2 separate regions of the Homo sapiens genome follow, and region 2 is linked to region 1. The links are contacts of gene promoters, found by promoter capture Hi-C in human tissues and cell types (Jung and others, 2019). All regions are on one chromosome and are shown on one strand. Each heading gives the region's core, a stretch centred on a gene start or on the middle of the fragment in contact. The rest is flanking DNA. Distances are from core to core; before and after follow the strand shown.

The links. Contacts are between HindIII fragments. The study calls those that stand out against the background at their distance.
Region 2: a fragment that was not itself captured here is called in contact with the fragment with the promoter of CCR5 in region 1 in 1 of the 25 tissues and cell types used here (pancreas).

What each region holds. Positions count from the first base shown.
Region 1 is chr3:46,368,845-46,372,363 of GRCh38, reverse strand. It overlaps CCR5 (C-C motif chemokine receptor 5), which reads right to left and starts at 1,418. Exons shown (of 2, transcript NM_001394783.1): 1 at 1,376-1,418. CCR5AS (CCR5 antisense RNA) reads left to right here. Exons shown (of 4, transcript NR_125406.2): 3 at 947-1,120. The HindIII fragment of the contact is 4,319 bases long and covers 1-3,106 here.
Region 2 is chr3:45,910,075-45,913,610 of GRCh38, reverse strand. It overlaps a transcript of LZTFL1 not described here. Among named protein-coding and RNA genes, the nearest start is that of CCR9, 25 kb to the right of the region's middle. The HindIII fragment of the contact is 4,074 bases long and covers 1-3,536 here.

The DNA.
Region 1 (3,519 bases), core at 169-2,668:
ATACAAGATCACACTATGTTGCCCAGGCTGGTCTCGAACTCCTGGGCTCAAGCGATCCTCCTGCCTCAGCCTCCTAGAATGCTGGGATTACAGGCATGAGCCACCATGCCCGGCTGCAACTCAGTCTTAACATTTTTATTGACGCTAGAGTTAGCCCACAAAGAACATGCACTATGAGCAAGCCAGTAATAATTAAGAGGCCTCGAGGGCACATACTGGATGCCAATCACTGTTCTAAGCATCATACCCATTCATTCATTTAATCCTTAGGGCAACCTTATGAGGCAGGAAATATTTTTCACATTTTGCAGACAAGGACCTTGAAGCACAGAGAGGGTGAGTAACTTGCTCAAAGCCACACAGCTAGTAAGCAACCGATTTTGAATGCGGGAAGCCTGCACTCTTAACTACCATGCTACCCTCCCTCTCAGTCCTCGAAAAGAGAATTAAAAGGCAAGACCATCAGATGTTTGGTGACATGATGTAGTCAGAGTGAAATGGCCGGGTGCCCAAGTCCCAGGGAAGGTCATAGATGACAACAGCCAATTGTAAAATCCTCACATTTTCTGTGAAGTTTGTGTTTGTAGTTTCTGAGTTGCCACAATTAAGAGTTGTCATACATACCCAAGAAATAATATAATAAAAAATGTTTCGTCTGCCACCACAGATGAATGTCATGCATTCTGGGTAGTTTAGTCTTATAACCAGCTGTCTTGCCTAGTCTATTTAAGTTCAGCTGCTCTAGCTGAGAATTTTCTCTTATTAAACCCTGTGAGTCTCAAACTCCCTGCACCTTAGACTAGGCAGCTGAGAGAAGCCCCTAGAAAAGCTCATTTTTAATTTTGAACCATAAAGAATTATATACTAACTGTGCCATGAAACTGATATATTAGAGGAAAATTTTATTTGGCGTTTGTAATTTAATATTAATTTTGACCATTTTTAGGCTTCCCTCTTGTCTGGAGGAAAAAGAAAAAAGAGAACCAGACTTAGACACAACTTCTTGTGGGCACATATTCAGAAGGCATCTCACTGGAGAGGGTTTAGTTCTCCTTAGCAGAAGATAAGATTTCAAGATTTCAGCTAAGACTCATCTCTCTGCAAATCTTTCTTTTGAGAGGTAAGGATTGTTAGTTATTAAAATACTATTGCTCCCTTTAAAGTCTTTCACTCACAATCATGTTTTGTATCTTTGATGTTATAACCGTCTGAAACTCATTCCAAACTGTGACCCTTTCCTTATCTTAAAGATTATATTTTAAGATAATTGTATGAGCACTTGGTGTTTGCCAAATGTCTTCTATGGGTTTCCTGTAAAGTCTTTTACTCATCTCAGAAGCTAACTAACAGGCCAAGCAGCTGAGAGGTTACTTACCGGGGAGAGTTTCTTGTAGGGGAACGGATGTCTCAGCTCTTCTGGCCAGATGAGCTGTGCAAATCAATCATATAGACAGTATAAAAGTAGGAAATGCTGTTTCTTTTGAAGGAGGGTGGAGTTAAATCATTAAGTGTATTGAAGGCGAAAAGAATCAGAGAACAGTTCTTCTTTTTAAGTTGAGCTTAAAATAAGCTAGAGAATAGATCTCTGGTCTGAAGGTTTATTTACGGGCTTTTCTCACTGGATTATTTTGTTTTTGTTCTCTGCTCATCCCACTACACAGAATCTGTTAGAAAATATAAAGAATAAAGGATATCAGAGCTAGAAGAACATTTACATTCATCTAGTCAAAAGCCCACATTTTAGTAAAAGAAATTACTATCCAAGAAGCAAATGATTTGTACAAGATCACAGGGCTTTTCAACAGTAAGGCTAAAAGGTTAAGAAAATTCTGATTATCTTAAGAGTTGCTATTAATTAAAGCCAACTTAAACCAACTTTAAATGTAGAGGGGGATCCTGGACTTCACATTAACCCTGTGTCCCCTTTTTCTCCACTCTCCCCGTATCCCCTATCCCACCCCAACCCCCACACAGATGCTCACCACCCAATATTATTGTTCTCTGTAAACGGAAACAACCTGTTGTCTAAAGAGTTTTAACTATGGGCTCACGGGTGAGCTAAACAGGTTTCCCATCTTTTTCTGGACCCAGGATCTTAGTGGGGATTTTCACTCTGTTCACTATTTTGTTGCCCTTCAAACCAGTAAGCATTTATGAGGACTCACACTATGCCAGATACATAGGTGGCAGGATTCTTCACTCCAGATATAATCTATCTGAAGCTATGAGAAATTTTCCACATGACATAAGTATATGGTCAAGTTCAGGTTCTTTATGACTATACTATATACAGTCATATCAAGCTCTCTTGGCGGTTGGTGACATCTGAAAATCTCAAGTATTGTCAGCAGAGCTGAGAAGACAGCAGAGAGCTACTCCCGAGCCACAAGATGCCCTCTGGGCTTCCGTGACCTTGGCTCTAGAATAAAAAGCTTTGGCTTGTGATCTCTAAGAAGGCAAATGAGACCCCAAACAGCAAAATTACGTGCCCCCAATCCTACAGAGGCAGACTAACCCAGGGGCTAAGCCAGTGGCCTCTGTAGTCAGACTGCCAAGCTTGAAACCTGTCTTACCCTCAGCTTTCTCGTCTGGGTATTGGGCTGAATGACAGTAGTCATTTCATGAGTTGTTGGGAGGATTCTATGAGGCATCCACGGCCAGCATCTAGCACATACTATGCACTCAGTAAACATCAAACTCTTAGTTACTCTTTCAGCAGTCCTTTGTCAGAGAGAGTTTATTTGATCAAATCCTAATAAAATTGGTTCACCGGAGTCTCTGTCTATAGCAGATTAGTTTCAGCAAACTAGAAGCTGAAAAGGTAAAGCTAATTGCTGGTGCTTGGAGAATAGAAAGAAATGACTGCTTGGGAAAAGCCAGAACAGTATAGAAATAGCCCAGCGATCAAGACACCCCCACCCCCGCCCCATATAGGGACATATGTCTGTGCTACAACAGAGCTCAGTAACATAATCATAACAAGGACAGCGAATCATCGAGAAAATGTTCTAGTTCATCCCATATGTGCAATTCAAAAGGCATTGATTAAGAACTGCAGTCATGCTGCTGGGTTTAACCTCCAGCTTCATTACTGCTACTTGGCTCTGACCAAATTATTGAAGCTCTGTGCCTTAGTTTTCTTAACTGTAGAGTGGAGGTTTTAAAAAAACCCAAATACAAACTTACTCAATATGCCTGTGGTGGAGAGGGAATGATAACAAGTGTAGAGCCTTTTGGGCACCCACCCTCGGGGGACTGTTTAAGCAGGGAAATATAAAGTGTGCTTTTGAAAGAGTTCAAAAATAGGTAACAAATAAATTAATATAAAATTTTATAGAAAATAGATAGCATAAATACAACTTTGGTTTTTCGAAAGATAGATAGCCTTGTATTCACTGGTAATCCACTTGTGCAGAACCCCCGGAGGCTGCCGGACCAACACTGTATTTCTGTTTGTGGCAATTGCTGGTTCTTACTTTCACCATGCAGAGCTGAGGCTTTGCCATGTTCTGTTTGTCT
Region 2 (3,536 bases), core at 390-2,889, 460 kb after region 1:
CAGTAGAAATGGCAGATATTTTTGTATTACATGACAATTTCTGCAGACTCTCAAAGTATCATTTATGTTTATCTCCACTCGGAAATGAAGGTTGTCATTAGATCTGATAGATTTTATGTAATGCATTAGTAAAAAGACACATATATTACTAGTTCATATATCTGCTTTAATATTTGGAGAATTGTGTTTCAATTTAATTGGTTTGTAATTCTATTTTATTGTTTGCATTTTAAAGCATTCTGAGAAAGGGGCTATAGGCTTTGTCAGATTGTCAAAGGTGTGGATGAGGCCAAAAAAAAAAAAAAGTTAAGGATCTTTAGGTTGTGGCAGGTCCTCATGAAAAACAAGAGAAAGATCAGCTCATTGCAGCACTGGTTTGTTAATAGTAACAATAGTAGCATTGTTTAATTTGTGTAATTGTATAATTTTCTAGGCTCTTGCTGTAAGTCAGCCCACTTTTACAGATGAGGAACCAAGACCCAGGGAAGATGGTAAGTCTGAACCATTTACAGAACATATTACTGCTACTGCGTTATGCTGAGACAGCTGTAGGAGTGGTTTTCTCTAAACCATTCTCATTTTACTTGAATTTAGATTATCTGATGACTTATAAAAAGCTTTTCCATAAACCAGGATTTGCTATGGCAGCCCTTGACCTTCAGACCTTTATTATGATTGTTAATACAAAAGGCTGTATCAGTTACCTGTTGTCAGACCAAGCTGCATTATTCTGCGTTATTTGAAGTTGGATAACCTCAAAACCGTGGCTTAAATCACTGAAGATTTATTTTGCTCACGAATATGCAGGTTGACTGGGGGCTCTGGACTCTTGGTGGGCTCACTCCCTTGTCTGCCCGTGGTCAGCTACGCATTGAGGCTGTGCTCCCACATGTCTGAGGGTTGGCTGCTCATTGGCTAATCGTGGCTGGGGTTGACTCCTACATCTGTGGTCAGTTGGTCAAAGAAAGGCTGGCTAGGCTAGGATGGTCTTGGCCAGACAACTTGGCTGTACTCCATGTGGTCTCCCTGACCCCAACAGGATAGCCTGGGCTTATTCAGATGGCCACTGAGCAGGTTTCCAAGAGAGTGAGTAAAAGTGCCCGAGCTTCGCAAAGCCCAGTCTCAGACCTGGCACATCATTTCAACAGTGTTCTGTTGGTCAGAGCAAGTCACAGGCCAGCCCAGATTCCAGGTGTGGGAAAAGGGACTCCTCTGGATGGGAGGAACTGCAAAGTCACTTTATAAAGGGCACAGGGACAGTGAGGGGTAGAGAATTGGGACCATTTTTGTAATATTTCTACCAAAGAGTCTATAATCTTCCCTTCTTGCACATATTTCCACCTCAATTTTCATCTTCAGTAAAACACCCACCTTCTCCTCCAGATACACTCATACAAGTACGCAAAAACACACGCAACAATCTTCATGGCCACAATGTCTGTGATAGCAAAAAACAGGAAAGGATTTGTTCAAAGTGGGTTGGATTGAAGCAGTATATGACGGCACCCTGGGAGACTATGTGACGAACACTATTCACACCCATGCGACATTTCCTGACAAAGACGCTGGACACAGCAGTGGCTGCCTTGGCAGATGGAGCTGGTGGGGCTTTGGAGTTGGTGGCAGGAATAAGATGCTTTTACTTTTCTCTTTATACTTTTCTATGTCGTTTGAAGTATTTTTAGTAGGTGCCAGTTTAACTTTTAAAATGCGAAAACTAATTTCTAAAAAGACATTCACATCATCTTACGGCCATCTCAAATTCCCAGTAAAAAACCAAATGCCCAATTCCTATATGCTGGAGTCATTACACAGTTGTTGATGTCTTTCTGCATTCACCAAAGGGGTGACCTACTTACCAGCAAAGCTGAACGGCATAAAGCCATGAGCGGGGAGGGCCTGGGAGGAAGCCACAATATGGCCAGAGTTCCTCTTCCCCTGCCTAGGGGCTGGCCCAGCTAGGGCCCCCTGTCCTCCTGACTCAGGGCCTTTGTGAGAAGAGCTATATCCAGATCATATGGTGCAAACTGACCACTGGAACATCAGTGCTTGAACTTCAACTGGGGAGAAAGTACAACAGCCTCTAAGAGATTGGGTTCTAGAATCAGAAAGACGTGGATCCAACTCCTAGTGCCACTACCTACTTCCTCTGGCTTGGGACAAGTCACTTAGCTACTCTGTGCCTCAAAATGTGATAGCTGTTATCATTGAGAAAGACATCCACACCTTGTCCAATCCCTTTTACTCTCTTGGCTCTTTTGATTACTTCTGGGCATTAGTCAGCTAGTCAAGTTGGGGGACCGAGTGATTGGGATCATTGAAAGATGAGTTAATTTACAGAGTAGCCACCTTTGGTGATTTTAAAATATGGCCCTAGAGTTATTTGACACCCTTCCAATAAGAGGTGGAGTCTCGAGTCCCTTGACTCCGGGCTGGCCTCTGGCTGCTCTGACCAGTGGAAGAGCAGAGGGACACTGTGTGGCTTCCGGTGCCATGTCAGAAAAGGACCTGCAACTTCCCCTTGGTTCTCTTGCACAGGGGAAGCCAGCTGCCATGTAAAAGGTCTGAGTACCTTGAGCCCTCCCTGCTGAAGCTGCCGTGTGCTGGGGCCCTGCATGGCAGCCAGCATCAACTACTGGCCCTAAGCCAGTAGTTAAGCTTTCCAGTTAAGCTTTCCAGTGGCCACAGCCCCAGCCAATATCTAACTGCAGCCACATGAGAGACCCCAAGCTAAATATGCCCTGCTGAGCCCCTTCCAAATTCCCGGCTCACAAAATGGCGAATAAAATAAAATGGTTATTGTTTTTATACCACTAAATTTTGTGGCAACAGTTACCAGGACACAGCTGAATTGAATACAAGCAAGGTTCTTAGAATCACTTCTTTCATTTAATTGCAAATGAACCCAAAAGAGATCCATTTACATTTTTTTGTTGTTTTATTGGATTACTCCTGATACTTTATCATAGCAAACCTGACACAAGTTTCACCTACACATCCTCTTTCCACATCCTCACTTCCCATTGATTTGCTCCTCAGCCAATCACAGTCTGCCTTGTTGATGCCTGGGAAGCTGCTCCTAGCCAGGTCGCTGCCAGCCTCCACTCTCTCTTGACCTCAGCTCTTCCCATGCTCATGGCTACCATCTTCCGGGTAGCATCCCCAGACTTGCTCTCTGCTGATCCTCCCCTCCCAGGGGCAGCACCACCAACCACCCAAACGTGCAGATTCAAAACCCAAGTCATCCTTGATGCCTTCCTTTCTTTCAATTCTAATCTTCACCATTGTGTCTACCCCCAGAGTAAGTCAAAAGCCATCCATCTCTCTACACCACAACCACCACCGTCACTCCAACTCCGCCACCACCATCTTTTTCCTGAACAACTGCAACAGCTCCTGACTGGCATCCCTGCTTCCTTGCACCACCCCTAACCCCCAGCCACCACCCTTCTTCTCCTGGGGGCTTTAGAGATCTTTAAAACATGAATTGGATCATGCCACACCCCACTTAAAAATCTTCCTGAAGTGGAATAAAT